Linked DNA regions of Homo sapiens: all the other regions are linked to region 2. The links are contacts of gene promoters, found by promoter capture Hi-C in blood cells and fetal thymus (Javierre and others, 2016). All regions are on one chromosome and are shown on one strand. Each heading gives the region's core, a stretch centred on a gene start or on the middle of the fragment in contact. The rest is flanking DNA. Distances are from core to core; before and after follow the strand shown.

Region 1 (2,700 bases), core at 1-2,500, 140 kb after region 2:
TCTTACCTAGGGTTGGCTAGTTCCTACTCCATCCTGCTCTCTTCCTTCTCCGGGAAGTGCTCCTTAACTGAAACCACACAACCGCAACCCCTCCATCTCCCAGCAGGCAGGTAAGTCAATTTCCCACGCCACACACGGTCGGCTCTTCCGGCGCCAACATGACCCTGGCTTGTTCCTGTCTTTGCATCTGTCAGTCTCCCCAGGAGGAATGTGTTCTCCACGAGGGCAGGGACTACGCAGAACTGGCCCACTGGAGTCATGAGGACTGAACAGATGGGGTGTTAAGGATGCAGCTTTTCTTTGAGGGGAAAATACACGTGGGGTGGGGGACTGGGGGGAGCCACCTTCAAATGCAAACTATTCGGCCTTATAAAGAATGCTCTGGGCCGGGCGCGGAGGCTCATGCCCATAAGCCCAGCACTTTGGGAGGCCGAGGCGGGCGGATCACGAGGTCAGCAGTTCGAGACCAGCCTGACCAACATGGTGAAACCCCGTCTCTACTAAAAATATAAAAATCAGCCGGGCGCGGTGGCGCACGCCTGTAATCCCAGCTACTCAGGAGGCTGAGGCAGGAGAATCGCTTGAACCCGGGAGGCGGAGGCTGCAGTGAGTCGAGATCGCGCCACTGCACTCCAGCCTGGGCGACAGAGCGAGACTCCGTCTCAGAAAAAAAAAAAAAAAAAAAAGAATGCTCTGACGCTTACGAGCAGCGTCACCCTGGATGTGTCCTGCCTCAAGGGGCCTCAGTTCCCCGTCTGCAAAATGGACCCCGGGGCGGTAGAGGGGCTTCAGACCGTGCTATCGTCCCTGCTGGGTCGGGCCTAAGCGCCGGGCCCGTACCTCGGTAGCTGTGGATGCGGCGGCCCGTGCCAGGCGGCAGCGTTGGGTAGGGCTGCGGCTCGCCGTCGAAGTTGAGCCATACGGGCAGCACGACGCGCGGACTGCGATTGCAGAAGATGACCTGGGAGGGCTCGCGCGAGTTCACCGAGCGCAGCACGGGCCGCGGCCGCCCGGCCTCCATCTCCTCCTCGGCGCCCAGTTCCTCCGGGCCGGACTCTTCCGGGCCGGACTCCTCGGCGCCCGACTCCTCCCCGCCGTCTTCTTCAGGGCCGTACTCTTCGACGCCTGCCTCCTCCGCGCCTACCTCGGCCTCGTCCCAGTTCTCCGCCCTCCGGGGCATTCCCTCCGCGATCCAGACCACCCGGGCCGGACGCCGCGGGATCCGCGGGTCGGACGCGGGGCGGAGCTGCGTGCGCGCTCCCGAGTCGACCTCCGTAGTCTTCGCGCGCGCTCGGTAGAGGATGGAACGCGCTCGCGGAAATAGCCGGCCGGAGGCTGTGCGCGTGCGCAGAAGGATCCTCCAGCACCGTAGGCCGTTGTAACGGAGGCGAGGCTAGGCCAACTCGTTACTGTATTTCCACTATAAAATTTTTTTTCGCCCCTCTAAGGTTTGGTGTTTTTTTTTTTTTTGAGACAGGGTCTCACTCTGTCGCCCGGGCTGGAGTGCAGTGGCGCGAGCTTGGCTCACTGCAGCCTTGACCTCCCTGGCTCAAGCGATCGTCTCGCCTCAGCCTCCCGAGTAGTTGGTACTGTAGGCGCGCACCACCATGCCCGACTAATTATTTTTATTTGTTGTTTGAAACGGAGTCTCGCTATGTTGCCTAGGCTGGTCTCGAACTCCTGGGTTCAAGTGATCCTCCTGCCTTGGCCTCTCAAAGTGCAGGGATTACAGGCCTTAGCCACTGTGCCTGGTGGACTAACTGAATTTTTTTTTTCTTCATGTCAGACGCGCAATGTGCCGACGTCGTAACAAGGTTCGAGGGTGGCGCATCTCACACGGGAACACCCAATCATCACGCTTATAAAGTACAAAAAGTCAACTAACTGAATTCTTACAAGGCATGGGTGATTAGTAAAGAGGGAAAAATAATTAGACCTACTATGTGCAGAGCACTCTGGTGGAAATTGGAAAATCAGATATTTACTTCAGAGCAATTAAAACTACAAACATAAACACTCATTAACTTTGTTCATTTTACAAATATTTATTAAGGCCCTACTATGTACCACCTATGGTGATAAGTGTTGAAAATATTGTAAAAACCGGTCATGTTTCCTGCCTTCACTGCACTTCAATAAAAGCGTCATACGGTAATCAATCACACAAATAAAATAGCAACTATGGCCGGGTGCAGTGGCTCATGCCTGTAATCCCAGTACTTTGGGAGGCTGAAGTGGGCTGATCACAAGGTCAGGAGTTCTAGACCAGCCTGACAACATGGTGAAACCTCGTCTCTACTAAAAATACAAAAATTAGCCTGGCGTGGTGGTGCGCGCATGTAATCCCAGCTACTTAGGAGGCTGAGGCAGGAGAATTGCTTGAACCCGGGAGGCGGAGGTTGCAGTGAGCTGAGATTGTGCTACTGCACTGCAGCCTGGGTGACAGAATGAGACTCTGTCTCAAAAAAAAAAAAAAAAAAAGTGCAACTGTGACTAGTACGACAAAAAGAGACAGGGTACTATAGAAGGCTAAAGATCTGGGGGTCAAGGAAGATGGTACACAATTCTGTGTAATTAAATGTTCAATGATGTGGGATGGACTCAAGTGGAGAAGCAGCTCAGAAAAAGAAGGGTTCAGAGAGTTTTATATTAGTTAAAAATAATTTTTTTTTAGACAGTCTCGCTTTATCACCCAGGCTG
Region 2 (2,700 bases), core at 182-2,681:
CTCTAAGTTTAGAAGCGCTCATCTGGCTTTTCGCTTGCTTCTGCAGCAACTCCCACGACTGTTGTACAAGCTCAGGAGGCGAATAAATGTTCAAACTGTATGCTGATGTTCCAAATGGGAATTTATTTCAAAGAGGAAAAGTTAATATTTTACTTTAAAAAAATCAAAATAATACAAATAAAAATAATTCTTGGTTTATGGTCTGTGGGAAGGGAATAAAAGGACAAGTAGCAAGGCCAATGTGCATGTTTAGAAAACCTAATCACACCAGCTCACTCAAGCAGAGAAGCTACTGCATGTGCATGCATTGTGTGGAATTAAGACTGGGTTTCTTAGAGAAGGAGGAGAGAAAGGGGGAGAGTAGGAGGGAGAGGGGAAAAGGAGGAGGGAGAGGAAGAGAAAGAAGAGATAAAGTGGGACTAAGAGAAAGAGGGAAGAGAGGAAGAACAAAGACACAGTTCCTTTAAACATCAGGGCTTCCTGAGTGCAAGGCTGCATTAACAGCTTATTAACAACCAGCCAGGGCTGTGTGGACAAAGAAACTTCAGGATGACATTATCGAAGCCAACATCCATTCAAGATTGGAGAGGAAGACAGGAATGCCCAAGAGTGAATCTGAAGTTAGACGTTAAGTGAGGTGCCCAATCACGGCTCTTGGGCACTGCTAGACAGCACTGAAAGAGCTGCATTCTCCTTCCTCCCTTCTCCACTACTGAGAAGGCCTGACAAAGCAAATGCCTCACATGGGCAAGGCTGGCCGTCGCCATGGTTCCCTTACTGATACCAGGTGGGATCCCCAAACATTCCCTCAACTCCAGTTCACAGCAGACACGAGCCTTGACTCTTATGTTCCACAACTTAATTCCAGTTACGACACTGGTCTTCCCGGGGGAAGGCCACTCGGTCATGCCCACCTTAGCCTAAACATGTGGACTGACTTGACTGTAGGCAACGGATGGGACACATCGCTAAGGGGAGGGAAAGGCAAAGAACGAGGTGGCCCCAAAGAGCAGCACCACAGACTTGCCAATTCAGCCATCTGAGCGCTTGTGGGAAACATGCAGGAAGCCGTCTGCAGAGACAGTTGGGGTAATGCCCACACTCTGGAAAACCCCTACCACAGAGGGTGCTAGGAGCCGAGCGTCTCCCCAAGTAAAATTCTGGCCGCCACACATGCAGGCACTAACTACTGATCAGGTGCGGCAGGCAGACAGAAACCCAACTGCTCTCCCTCACATAGAAGCTGTGGTCTGTGAATGCCACCGTCATCCAGGGACTCTTAGAAATGTAGAATCTTGGGCAGCACCCCAGCCCTAATCTATCAGGATCTGCATTTTAACAAGATCCCCAGGCTACTTAGTAAACGGCTGATGGGAAATGGCTTAGAATCCCCTTCCCAGGCGTCACAGCACACTGCAGGCCCCCTACTCACCCCTCCACCCTCAGACAGCCATGCCCCTACCTCCCCAGGCACCTGGCACAAGTGGGTACAGAGATCAACACACTTGTCCTGGAACTTAACTGTCTCAGCTCTGTCACTTAGTTGGGATACGACCTTGATTATCACTAACTGCCCACAGCCCTCTTATCAATAGCTACAGAAGAGGAGCAAAGGCCCAATATGGCCAAAGTGGTCAGGAGATGGTTTCTTTTTGAGAAAGCACCACTGATTGGGCTTGGGAGAGGATGGGTACCAGGCTCTGGACAAATGCTGGTCACCTGATGCTTCCCCCACCAAAGACAAGAACTTACTTCTCTCTCAAAGAAATCACAAGCATTATTAACCGCCTGCCTGGGTCATTCAAATAGAAACAGATATTGCGCACCCACTATGGGCTGGGCACTCTCACCTGTGCCAGGCAACAAGGTGTAGTGCAAAGATCTGGGCTTTGGCCTCGGACCTGAATTTGGATACCAGCTCTGTGATCCAGGCCAAGACTGAATTTCTCAGGCTCCTCACATGTAAAATGCCTACCTTGCTGGGTTACTGCCAAGACTGAACATGAGGTCTCACATGAGCTGTAGCTGGCAAAGGGCCCGGCACGTAGCTAAGCATTCAATTACTACAGCAGCCAGCACTCACTGTCACACCCCTGATGTACACCAGGCACCGTGTTAAATGCTCATGCAGATTAATGTGATTTCACTTCATTTTCACAGCAAGCCTACTTATGAGGGAGAAAACTAAAGCTCAGAGAAATTAAGTAACTTTCCTAAAGCACACAGCAAGCACGTGGCCGACTCACAGCCAACGCCACAGGACTCAGGGGCTGCTTTTTCATCCGGTTCCACAGCCTCTCAGCCAGTGCAGCTTCCCTCGCTCTACTGCCTAGGATGAGAGAGGTTTCCATATTCATTCATTTTCCTTCAGAATACACTGGGTGAACTTGGTAGAGGGGTGAGGACAATTTCAAGTCAACAATGGGCAGAAATATAATTTATCAAAGAAAATGGTTGGAGGACACCCTTGAGAAAATGTATTATTTCAAACATGTTCCTGTATCAGCTTTCTTAAACCCACTCCTTTATGGATCGTTTAATGATACCACTGTAACTTGAGGGTCTCTAAAGTGGGGTGTATGTACCCCTAGGGTGAGCGAGCTATTTGCTGGAGAAAAAAATTCTCCTTGTGAAAAAACTTTTACTTTGTGTATAATTAGCATAAGAGCACACGTATTTAAGTTCTCATGCACTTATAGT
Region 3 (2,700 bases), core at 20-2,519, 210 kb after region 2:
AGGTCAGGAGTTCGAGACAAGCCCGGCCAACACGGTGAAACCCCATCTGCACCAAAAGTACAAAAATTAGCTGGGTGTGGTGGTGCACACTTCTAGTCCCGGCTACTCAGGAGGCTGAGGCAGGAGAATTGCTTGAACCCAGGAGGCAGAGGTCGCAGTAAGCCGAGACTGTGCCACTGCACTCCAGCCTGGGTGACAGAGCGAGACTCCATCTCAAAAATACAAAAACAACTAGATCTTATTCATTCTATCTAATTATATTTTTGAAGCTATTAACCACCCTCATTTTTCCCAGTCCCCCAACCACCATTACCCTCCCCAGCCTCTGGTAACCATACTTCTACTCTATCTCCATGAGTTAAATTATTTTAATTTTCAGCTCCCACAAATATGTGAAAATATGTTGTGCCTGGCCTATTTCACTTAACATAATGTCCTCCAGTTCCATCTGTATTGTTGCAAACAACAGGATCTCATTGTTTTTTATGGCTGAATAGTACTCCATTGTGTATACGGACCACATTTTATCCATTCACCCGCTGATGGACACTTAGGTTGCTTCCAAATCTTGACTATTGTGAATAGTGCTGCAATAAACATGGGAGTGCAGATATCTCCTTGGTATACTGATTTCCTTTCTTTTGGGTATATACCTACCAGTGGCATTCCTGGATCATATGGTGATTCTATTTTTAGTTTTTTGAGGAAACTCCAAACTGTTCTCCATAGTGCTTGTACTAATTGACATTCCCACCAACAGTGTACAAAGGTTCTCTTTTCTCCATATTCTCACCAGCATCTGTTATTGCCTGTCCTTTGGATAAAAGCCATCTTTTTTTTTTTTTCTTTTTTTCTTTTTTTTTTTTTATCGATCATTCTTGGGTGTTTCTCGCAGAGGGGGATTTGGCAGGGTCATAGGACAATAGTGGAGGGAAGGTCGGCAGATAAACAAGTGAACAAAGGTCTCTGGTTTTCCTAGGCAGAGGACCCTGCGGCCTTCCGCAGTGTTTGTGTCCCTGGGTACTTGAGATTAGGGAGTGGTGATGATTCTTAACAAGCATGCTGCCTTCAAGCATCTGTTTAACAAAGCACATCTTGCACCGCCCTTAATCCATTTAACCCTGAGTGGACACAGCACATGTTTCAGAGAGCACAGGGTTGGGGGTAAGGTCACCGATCAACAGGATCCCAAGGCAGAAGAATTTATCTTAGTACAGAACAAAATGAAAAGTCTCCCATGTCTACTTCTTTCTACACAGACACGGCAACCATCCGATTTCTCAATCTTTTCCCCACCTTTCCCCCCTTTCTATTCCACAAAACCGCCATTGTCATCCCGGCCTGTTCTCAATGAGCTGTTGGGTACACCTCCCAGACGGGGTGGTGGCCGGGCAGAGGGGCTCCTCACTTCCCAGTAGGGGCGGCCGGGCAGAGGCGCCCCTCACCTCCCGGACGGGGCGGCTGGCCGGACAGGGGGCTGACCCCCCCCACCTCCCTCCCGGACCGGGAGGCTGGCCCGGCAGAGGAGCTCCTCACTTCCCAGTAGGGGCGGCTGGGCAGAGGCGCCCCTCACCTCCCGGACGGGGCAGCTGGCCGGGCGGGGGGCTGACCCCCTGACCTCCCTCCCGGACGGGGCGGCTGGCCTGGCGGGGCCTGACCCCCACCTCCCTCCCGGACGGGGTGGCTGCCGGGCGGAGACGCTCCTCACTTCCCAGACAGGGTGGCTGCCGGGCGGAGGGACTCCTCACTTCTCAGATGGGGCGGCTGCCGGGCAGAGGGGCTCCTCACTTCTCAGACGGGGCGGTTGCCGGGCGGAGGGTCTCCTCACTTCTCATACGGGGCAGCCGGGCAGAGACGCTCCTCACCTCCCAGACGGGGTCGCGGCCGGGCAGAGGCGCTCCTCACATCCCAGACGGGGCGGTGGGGCAGAGGCGCTCCCCACATCTCAGACGATGGGTGGCCGGGCAGAGACGCTCCTCACTTCCTAGATGGGATGGCGGCCGGGCAGAGACGCTCCTCACTTTCCAGACTGGGCAGCCTGGCAGAGAGGCTCCTCACATCCCAGACGATGGGCGGCCAGGCAGAGACGCTCCTCACTTCCCAGACGGGGTGGCGGCCGGGCAGAGGCTGCAATCTCGGCACTTTGGGAGGCCAAGGCAGGTGGCTGGGAGGTGGAGGTTGTAGCGAGCCGAGATCACGCTACTGCACTCCAGCCTGGGCACCATTGAGCACTGAGTGAACCAGACTCCGTCTGCAATCCCGGCACCTCGGGAGGCTGAGGCTAGCGGATCACTCGCGGTTAGGAGCTGGAGACCGGCCCGGCCAACACAGCGAAACCCCGTCTCCACCAAAAAAGTACGAAAACCAGTCAGGCGTGGCGGCGCGCGCCTGCAATCGCAGGCACTCGGCAGGCTGAGGCAGGAGAATCAGGCAGGGAGGTTGCAGTGAGCCGAGATGGCAGCAGTACAGTCCAGCTTTGGCTCGGCATCAGAGGGAGACGGGAGAGGGGGAGGGGGAGGGGGAGGGGGAGAGGCATCTTAACTAGGGTGAGATGACATCACATGGCAGTTTTGATTTGCATTTCTCTGAGGCTCAGTGATGTTGAGCACCTTTTCACATATCCACTATTTGTATGTCTTCTTTTGAGAAATGTCTATTCAGACCTTTTACCCATTTTTCAATCCGAATAATTTTTTTTCC

What was found. Contacts are between HindIII fragments. The CHiCAGO score rates a contact against its expected background, and 5 or more counts as called.
Region 1: a contact is called between the fragment with the promoter of VHL here and the fragment with the promoter of LINC00852 in region 2, in 4 of 17 cell types (activated CD4 T cells, non-activated CD4 T cells, naive CD4 T cells and 1 more). The highest score is 9.1, in activated CD4 T cells.
Region 3: a fragment that was not itself captured here is called in contact with the fragment with the promoter of LINC00852 in region 2 in 3 of 17 cell types (activated CD4 T cells, megakaryocytes and naive CD8 T cells); the score reaches 6.2 in activated CD4 T cells.

The regions. Positions count from the first base shown.
Region 1 is chr3:10,140,328-10,143,027 of GRCh38, reverse strand. It overlaps VHL (von Hippel-Lindau tumor suppressor), which reads right to left and starts at 1,250. Exons shown (of 3, transcript NM_000551.4): 1 at 841-1,250. The coding sequence starts at 1,180. It also overlaps the pseudogene LOC124906359. RefSeq lists an enhancer at 1-333. The HindIII fragment of the contact is 16,438 bases long and covers 1-2,700 here.
Region 2 is chr3:10,283,150-10,285,849 of GRCh38, reverse strand. LINC00852 (long intergenic non-protein coding RNA 852) reads right to left here and starts at 1,431. Exons shown (of 1, transcript NR_026829.1): 1 at 104-1,431. It overlaps GHRL (ghrelin and obestatin prepropeptide), which reads left to right. Exons shown (of 6, transcript NM_016362.5): 6 at 1-184. GHRLOS (ghrelin opposite strand/antisense RNA) reads right to left here. Exons shown (of 6, transcript NR_073568.1): 2 at 2,247-2,329; 3 at 1-102. The HindIII fragment of the contact is 4,911 bases long and covers 1-2,700 here.
Region 3 is chr3:10,069,293-10,071,992 of GRCh38, reverse strand. All of the region lies in intron 26 of FANCD2 (FA complementation group D2), which reads right to left. Among named protein-coding and RNA genes, the nearest start is that of FANCD2OS, 38 kb to the left of the region's middle. RefSeq lists an enhancer at 806-1,770. The HindIII fragment of the contact is 4,595 bases long and covers 1-2,700 here.